Linked DNA regions of Homo sapiens: regions 1 and 2 are each linked to region 3. Evidence: promoter capture Hi-C in 16 types of primary human blood cells and fetal thymus (Javierre and others, 2016). All regions are on one chromosome and are shown on one strand. Each heading gives the region's core, a stretch centred on a gene start or on the middle of the fragment in contact. The rest is flanking DNA. Distances are from core to core; before and after follow the strand shown. Region 1 overlaps CINP (cyclin dependent kinase 2 interacting protein). Region 2 overlaps LINC02320 (long intergenic non-protein coding RNA 2320). Region 3 holds the start of DYNC1H1 (dynein cytoplasmic 1 heavy chain 1).

The links. The method cuts DNA at HindIII sites, captures the fragments that hold promoters and counts their contacts. A CHiCAGO score of 5 or more calls a contact.
Region 1: a fragment that was not itself captured here is called in contact with the fragment with the promoter of DYNC1H1 in region 3 in 1 of 17 cell types (activated CD4 T cells); the score reaches 5.3 in activated CD4 T cells.
Region 2: a contact is called between a fragment that was not itself captured here and the fragment with the promoter of DYNC1H1 in region 3, in 2 of 17 cell types (total CD8 T cells and naive CD8 T cells). The highest score is 5.7, in total CD8 T cells.

The regions. Positions count from the first base shown.
Region 1 is chr14:102,355,018-102,357,717 of GRCh38, forward strand. CINP (cyclin dependent kinase 2 interacting protein) reads right to left here. Exons shown (of 5, transcript NM_032630.3): 3 at 751-880. Among named protein-coding and RNA genes, the nearest start is that of CINP, 6.5 kb to the right of the region's middle. The HindIII fragment of the contact is 877 bases long and covers 923-1,799 here.
Region 2 is chr14:101,698,698-101,701,397 of GRCh38, forward strand. All of the region lies in intron 1 of LINC02320 (long intergenic non-protein coding RNA 2320), which reads right to left. Among named protein-coding and RNA genes, the nearest start is that of LINC00239, 30 kb to the right of the region's middle. The HindIII fragment of the contact is 307 bases long and covers 1,133-1,439 here.
Region 3 is chr14:101,963,250-101,965,949 of GRCh38, forward strand. It overlaps DYNC1H1 (dynein cytoplasmic 1 heavy chain 1), which reads left to right and starts at 1,324. Exons shown (of 78, transcript NM_001376.5): 1 at 1,324-1,698. The coding sequence starts at 1,443. RefSeq lists enhancers at 877-1,016, 1,061-1,671, 1,672-2,281 and silencers at 1,157-1,316, 1,807-2,016. The HindIII fragment of the contact is 2,903 bases long and covers 1-2,700 here.

The DNA.
Region 1 (2,700 bases), core at 111-2,610, 390 kb after region 3:
AAGATCATGCTACTGTACTCCACCCTGGGTATCAGAATGAGACTCCATCTCAAAAAAAAAAAAAAAGAAAATCCAAAAAACAAAGATAAAGTTTTCATGGAATGCAGCCACATCCATTTACGCATATATTATCTATGGCTGTTTAGTCCTATGTGGCAGAGATGAGTAGCTGAGATAGAGACTGGCTGGCCCTGGAAGCCTAAAATATTTACTCTGTGGCTGGGCGTGGTAGCTCATGCCTGTAATCCCAGCCCTTTGGGAGGCCAGCAGGTGGATCACCTGAGGTCAGGAGTTTGAGATCAGCCTGACCAATATGGTGAAACCCTGTCTCAACTAAAAATGCAAAAATTAGCCAGGCATGGTGGCGGACGCCTGTAGTCCCAGCTACTCTGGAGGCTGAGACAGGAGAATCGCTTGAGCCCAGGAGGCGGAGTTTGCGGTGAGCCAAGATCACGCCATTGCACTCCAGCCTGGGCGACAAAGCAAGACTCCATATCATGGAAAAAAAAAAAAAATTTACTATGTGATGAGCCCTGAAAGTGGGTGACATTTCCCCGGATGACGCACAGGAGGAGTGAGTGTCTAAGACAGCATCTTGGGGAACATTAAGGTTTACGCAGCAGGCAGAGGAAGAGAACATCAGAGGAGACTGAGAAGGAGTAAGTGATGGCCAATGGTCAAGCAAACCCCAAATACGTCCATCGGATTCAGTGACAGTGACCACAAGTGGCCTGCGTCTTTATGTCTTACCAACCCATCCAAGGTGGCCTGCAGTTCCTCACACAGCTTCTCCAGTTCCTCGTTATATTCCAGACACACCTTTTCTTCATTTTCCTTCGAGGCTGGGCTGCTGCTGTCTAGTTCTATCTTGTCTTTATTCCTAAACAAAATAGAAAATAATGTGTACAAAATATACTCTTTAAGCTTGCCTTATTTCCTTATAATAAATTCTACAAACCTCTATATCCACATAGTTACGTGGGACATTTTGCATAAGCATTGTTCTTTCATATCATTATGATACAAATGCAGTTATTATTTATATGTGCAATGAATATGTCCATTGGTCACTCAATTTTGCACCAAAATAAGTCAGTTAAATTCAGCCATGTGACAGCCGGTTTTGGTGGCTCATGCCTGTAATCCCAACACTTTGAGGGATGGACGCGGGAGGACTGCTTGAGTCCAGGAGTCTGAGTCCAGCCTGGGCAACACAGTGAGACCTCATCTCCACAAAAATTAAAAGTAAAAATTAGCTGGGCATGGTGGGACACGTATGTGGTCCCAGCTACTTAGGAGGCTCAGGTGGGAGGATCACTTAAGCCCAGGAAGTCAAGGCTGCAGTGAGCCATTATAGCACCACTGCACTCAGCCTGCACAAAAGAGCAAGACTGTCTCAAAAAAAAAAAAAACACCATTCAGCGGTGTGGCATCCTTGGCATAGGGCATGGTGCTGGATGTACAAAGATGAATAAGACATGGATCATTTCCTCAAAGAGTTCACAATCCAGGAATATAGGCACGCCTCATTTTATTGTGCTTCACCTTATTCAGTTTCATAGATAATGCATTTTTTACAAATTGAAGGTTTGTGGCAACCCTCTGTATGTAGAGCAAGTCAATCAGCACCATTTTGCCAACAGCATGTGCTTACTTCATGTCTCTCTATCATATTTTGGTAATTCTTACAATATTTCAAACTTTTTCATTATTATGTCTATGATCTGTGATTGGTAATCTTTGATATTGCTAGTTTAATTGTTTTGAGGTGCCATGAACCATGTGCATATATAACGGCAAGCTTAATGAATGGATGTTGTGTGTTCTGACTGCTCCACTGACCGGCTGCTCCCCTTTCTCCCCATCTCCTTGGGCCTCCCTGTTCCCTGAAATAGGAGGATACTGAAATCAACCCAATTAATAGCCCTACATTGGCCTCTAAGTGTACAAGTGAAAGGAAGAGTTGCATATCTCTCATTTTAAATCAAAAGCTATACTTTGGCCAATTTAAGAAACAAAAAAATTAAAAGCTAGAAATGATTAAGCTTAGTGAGGAAGGCATGTCAAAAGCTCAGATAAGGGGCCAGGTGCGGTGGCTCACGCCTGTAATCCTAGCACTTTGGGAGGCCAAGGCGGGCAGATTGCCTGAGCTCAGGAATTCAAGACCAGCCTGGGCAACATGTGAAACTCCGTCTCTACTAAAATACAAAAGAAATTAGCTGGGCGTGGCGGTGTGCACCTGTAGTCCCAGCTACTTGGGAGGCAAAGGCAGGAGAATTGCTTGAACCCGGGAGGCAGAGGTTGCAGTGAGCCAAGATTGCACCATTGCACTCCAGCCTGAGCGACAGAGCGAGACTCCATCTCTACAAAAAAAAAAAAAAAAAAGCTAAGATAAGCTGAAAACCAGGCCTCTTGTGCCAAACAGTTGGCCAAGTTGTGAAGGCAAAGGAAAAGTTACTGAAGAAAATTAAAGGTGCTACTCCAGTGAACATGTGAATGATGAGTGAAACAGCCTTAGTGTGGATATGGAGAAAGTTTGAGTGGTCTGGATAGAAGATCAAACCAGACACAGCATTCCCTTAAGTCAAAGCCTAATCCACAGCAGGACCCTAACTCTCTTCAATTCTGTGAAGGCTGAGAGATATGAGGAAGTTACAGAAGAAAAGTTTGAGATAGCAGGATTTGGTTCATGAGGTTTAA
Region 2 (2,700 bases), core at 36-2,535, 260 kb before region 3:
CATATCAGCATAATAAAGGAGAAAAACCATATGATCATTTCAACTGATGCTGAAAAAGCATTTGATAAAATTCCATATCCTTTCATGATTTGAAAAAAAAAACTCAAAAACTGGGTATAAAAGGCACATGCCTCAACACAATAAAAAGCATGGCTTTCATGTTGAGATATGTTCCTTCTATACCCAGTTTTTGCATCCTTCAACTTTCATATATAATATATATGTATATATATATATATATATATATATATATATATATATATATATATATATAAGTTGATCATACTAATATCATAGTGAATGCGGAAAAATGAAAGCCTTTTCTCTAAGATCTGGAACAAGACAAGGATGCCCACTTTCATCGCTGTTATTCAACATAGTACTGGAAGTCCTAGCTAGAGTAATCAGACAAAAGAAAGAAATAAAAGGCATTCAAAATGGAAAGGAAGAAGTGAAATTATTTTTATTTGCAGATAATATGATCTTATACTTGAAAAAAACGAAAGACTCCACCAAAAGGCTATTAGAACTGATAAACAAATTTAGTAAAGTTGCAGAATACAAAATCAACATACAAAAATCAGTAGCATTTTTATATGCTAACAGCAAACAATCTGAAAAAGAAATCAAGAAAGTAATCCCATTTACAATAGCTACAAATTAAACAAAATACCTAGGAATAAACTTAACCAAGGAAGTGAAAAATCTTTACAATAAAAACTTTTATGCAAGATATTGAAGAGGACACCAAAAAATGGAAAGATATTCCATGTTCATGGATTAGAAGAATCAATATTATTAAAATGTCCATGCTACCCAAAGCAATCTACAGATTCAGTGCAATCTCTATTAAAGTACTAATGAAATTCCTCACAGAAATAGAAAAAAAATCCTAAAATTTATATGGGACCACAAAAGGCCCAGAACAGTCAGAACCATCATGAGGAAAAAAAAAAAAAAAAAAAAACTGGAGGAATCCCATTACCTGATTTTAAATTATACTACAGAGCTATAGCAATGAAGTAACAAAAACAGGATGGTACTGACATAAAAACAGACACATAGACCAATGGAACAGAATAGAGAACCCAGAAATAAATCCATACAGCCACAGTGAACTCATTTTCAACAAAGCTTTCAAGAACATGTATTGAGAAAGGGATTGTCTCGTCAGTAAATTGTGCTGGGAAAACTGGATGTTCATATGCAGAAGAATGAAACCAGATCGCTCTCTCACCATACACAAAAATCAAATCAAAATGGATTAAAGACTTAAATCTAAAACCTGAAACTATGAAACTACTAAAAGAAAACATAGGAGAAACTCTCCAGGACATTGGTACGAACAAAGATTTCTTGAGTAATACTTCACAGGCACAGGCAACCGAAGCAAAAAATGGACAAATGGAATCACATTTTAAAAAATCACATCATTAAAAAGCTTCTGCATAGCAAAGGAAACTAGCAACAAAGTGAAGAGACAATCCACAGAATGAGAGAAAATATTTGCAAACTATCCATCTGACAAGGGATTAATAACCAGAATATATAAGGAGCTCAAACAATTCAATAGGAAAAAAAATCTAACAATTTGATTTAAAATGGGCAAAAGATTGAATAGACATTTCTCAAAAGAATACATCCAAATGGCAAACAGCTATGTGAACAGGTGCTCAACATCACTGATCATCAGGGAAACACAAATCAAAACTCCAATGAGACATCATCTCATACTAGTTAAAATAGCTTTTATCTAAAAGGCAGGAAATAATGAATGCTGGAGTGTTGAGAAAGGGAACCCTCGTACACTGTTGGTGGGAATGTAAATTAGTGCAGCCACTTGGAAAACAACATGGAGCTTCCTCAGAAAACTAAAAATAGACAGGGCGCAGTGGCTCCTGCCTGCAATCCCAGCACTTTGGGAGGCCAAGGCGGGTGGATCACCTGAGGTCAGGAGTTCGAGACCAGCGTGGCCAACACAACGAAACCCTGTCTCTACTAAAAATGCAAAAAATAGCCGGGCATGGCGGTGCGTGCCTGTGATCCCAGCTACTCAGGAGGCTGAGGCAGGAGAATCTCTTGAACCTGGGAGGTGGAGGTTGCAGTGAGCCAAGATCATACCACTGCACTCCACCCTGGGCAACAGAACGAGATTCCATCCCAAAAAAGAAAAAAATAATCAAAAAACAAAAAGAAAACTAAGAATAGAACTACCATAGGATCCAGCAATCCCACTGATAGGGATATACCTAAAAGAAAGTAAATCAGTAAATCAAAGAGATGTCTGCACTCTCATGCATTGCAGCACTATTCACAATATCCAAGATTTGGAACCGAGGTGTCCATCAACAAAAGAATAAATAAAATGTGGTACATATGCACAATGGAGTACTATTCAGCCATAGAAAAGAATGAGATTCTGTCATTTGCAACCACATGGATGGAAATGGAGGACATTATGTTAAGTAAAATAAGCCAGGCACAGAAAGACAAGCTTTACATGTTCTCACTCATTTGTGGGAGCTAAAAATTAAAACCATGGAATTCATGGAGATGAGAGTAGAATGATGGTTACTGGAGGCTGGGAAGGGTAGAAAGGGGTGGAGGGTAGGGACAGTTAAGGAGTACAAAGATATATTCAGATAGAATGAATAAGATATAGTATTTGATAGCACAACAGGGTGACTAAAGTCAACAATA
Region 3 (2,700 bases), core at 74-2,573:
ATCATCATTCCACCAATCAGGACTCGGCACTCTGACAGTGCACTTTGATGTTTAAAAAAAACAAAAAAACCAAAAAAAAAAAAAACGCCATTGGCTTCCCTCTCTCCACCCAACTTAAGAAAGAAGTTATGAATGTGAACTTTCAAAGGCCAATTACTACCCCTTAGAAGAACCTACCATCTCTAAACTACAAAGATGGGCAGCCTGGATTCTATTATTTTTATTATTTTACAAAATTCTTAATTTTTAAATACACATAGATATAGGGTCTCGCTAGGTTGACCAGGCTGGTCTTGGAACTTCTGGCCTCAAGCAATCCTCCCATCTCAGCCTCTCAAAATGCTAGGATTACAGGTGTGAGCCACCGCACCCAGCTGGGCAGCCTGGATTCTGGCTCTTATGTAGTCATGGTGTAGGGGAGGAGGTCGTGGTGGGTCCGAACTAGGGGGAAACTTGGTGGGCAGGCAACCCAGCCCCTGCCTTGTACGGACCCAGATACTGAGGCCCACAGAATGACAGTGCCAGCTCTAGGGGGCTGGAGGAGAGCCATTGCTGGAGGTAGCTGTTCTCAGTAGGTCTCCCTCTTGGTCCTCACAGCGTCCTCGGGGACAATGATTTTTGTCATTAGGAACCAGATCCCATCACAGCTTGGCTTTACGTACAGTGAAGGTGTCATTCCTGGCTTAACCTTACACTGCCCCGAAGGCCCCCTCCCCAGCTGTCCGTTTCCAGCCTGGCAATGGGACTCTCTGAGCACGCCCCTCATCTCCTCCCCCTCTGAAAAGTATCCTCAATCTCCCGGTCTATATCTAATAACACATCTGTCGTGCCTATATTTTGGTACCTGATACGTAGTCATTCATTCATTCAATGAGAGAACATTTAATGAGAGGTTAAGGGGCTTAGAACAACGCCGGGCACAGGCTAAGCGCTCACTAAACGTTAGCTCTCGCCAATAACATCACTGATTCACTATAAAGTTTCTCTGGCTGTGTGCTATTCGCTGCGTCCACAGCAGTGAAGAAGACAGACGCAGCCCCTGACCAACCTCGCCAAGCCCGGGCGCCGAGCCAGGACGTTGAGCCAAGTCCCCATCTCCTAGGACTCGCAGTGCGGAGGCTGCGGGCCCCGACCAGCGCCGAGACTACAAGTCCCAGAAGGGCGCGCGGCGACATCGCCGGGCCCGCCCCCCGCGCACGCGCGGCGCCGTGACGCTAAGGCCGCGAGCGAGCGCGGGTGGCTGCGGCGGCTGCGGCCGGCGGGGCGGGGCGGGGCCACCTGGCAGTGGCTGCCTTTAGGGCGGAGCCGGCTCCCGCTCTCCTCAGTCTGCGGTGGGCTAGCGGACGGTCCGGCTTCCGGCGGCCGTTTCTGTCTCTTGCTGGCTGTCTCGCTGAGTCGCGGCCGCCTTCTCATCGCTCCTGGAAGGTCCCGAGCGCGACACCATGTCGGAGCCCGGGGGCGGCGGCGGCGAGGACGGCTCGGCCGGATTGGAAGTGTCGGCCGTGCAGAATGTGGCGGACGTGTCGGTGCTGCAGAAGCACCTGCGCAAGCTGGTGCCGCTGCTGCTGGAGGACGGCGGCGAGGCGCCGGCCGCGCTGGAGGCGGCGCTGGAGGAGAAGAGCGCCCTGGAGCAGATGCGCAAGTTCCTTTCGGACCCGCAGGTCCACACGGTGCTGGTGGAGCGCTCCACGCTCAAAGGTGCGGGGCCGCGGAGGGCAGGGTCGCCAGAGCCAGGCCTCGCGGAATGCAGGGCCTGCCAGGTCCTCCGGGGTCGCAGATGTCCCCGGGATGGGAGGAGCCCGGCAGCTGCAGATGACCCCTGGATGGGCAGAGCCCGGCGGCCGCAGACGTCCCGCCGGCCGGGTCCCCAGGGCCGCAGACGCCCCGCAGAGGCCGGCGCGGCGCCCGGGGCTCGCCCTCGCCACACCCACTGCCCGGCCCGGAGCCCCCAGGGCGCCCCGCTCCTGGTCGCGGGGAGGGGAAAGGGGTCCCCGTCTGCCGTCACCCAAAACAATGGGGTCGCTTTGTCTGCTCGGGCCTCTCAAGATGGCCGAGTTGGGTGGAGACAGCGTCTCCCTGGGCTGAGAGCGGGCGAGGCCGCATCCCTGCCTCCAGTGTCACATGAGCTTTTCGGTTTCGATTTGTGTCCAAGCCAAGTGGCCTTCGGGAGGGATGTGTCGGGGGCAGACCCGCGGAGCTGGGGGCAGCCGGGGTTCTGGTTCGGGAGGAGGTCGGGCGGGTGTCCCAGCCCTGCCTTGTGGGGACCCAGAGGCCGAGGCCCACAGAGCGACGGTGCCAGCCCCGGGCCTGCGAGCATCACTGTTGTAGGTGGATGCTCTCACAGCATCCTTGCTGAACGGGTGTATCCTGATTTTACACCTGAGGAAACTGAGGCTCAGGTTAAGTGATTTCACCCAAGGTCACCAGCTAATCTTAGTCCTGAGACTAGACTCAGTGTCTCAGCTCCCCATCCACTGCTTGTTTTCACTGATCATACCTCATATTTGTTTAATGCTTCGATGATGTTAATGATAACCCTGTAATATTTGAGTCTAATTTTACAGATTAAAAAAAAAAAAAAAGATTCAGGTTAGGCACCTAGTAGGGGGAAGAGGCTAGAGTTAGCGTGTTCCAGCTGTCTCCTCAAATAATGATCGCCCACCAGCAAGGTTACATTCATCTAAGTCTGGGGCTTGCCTG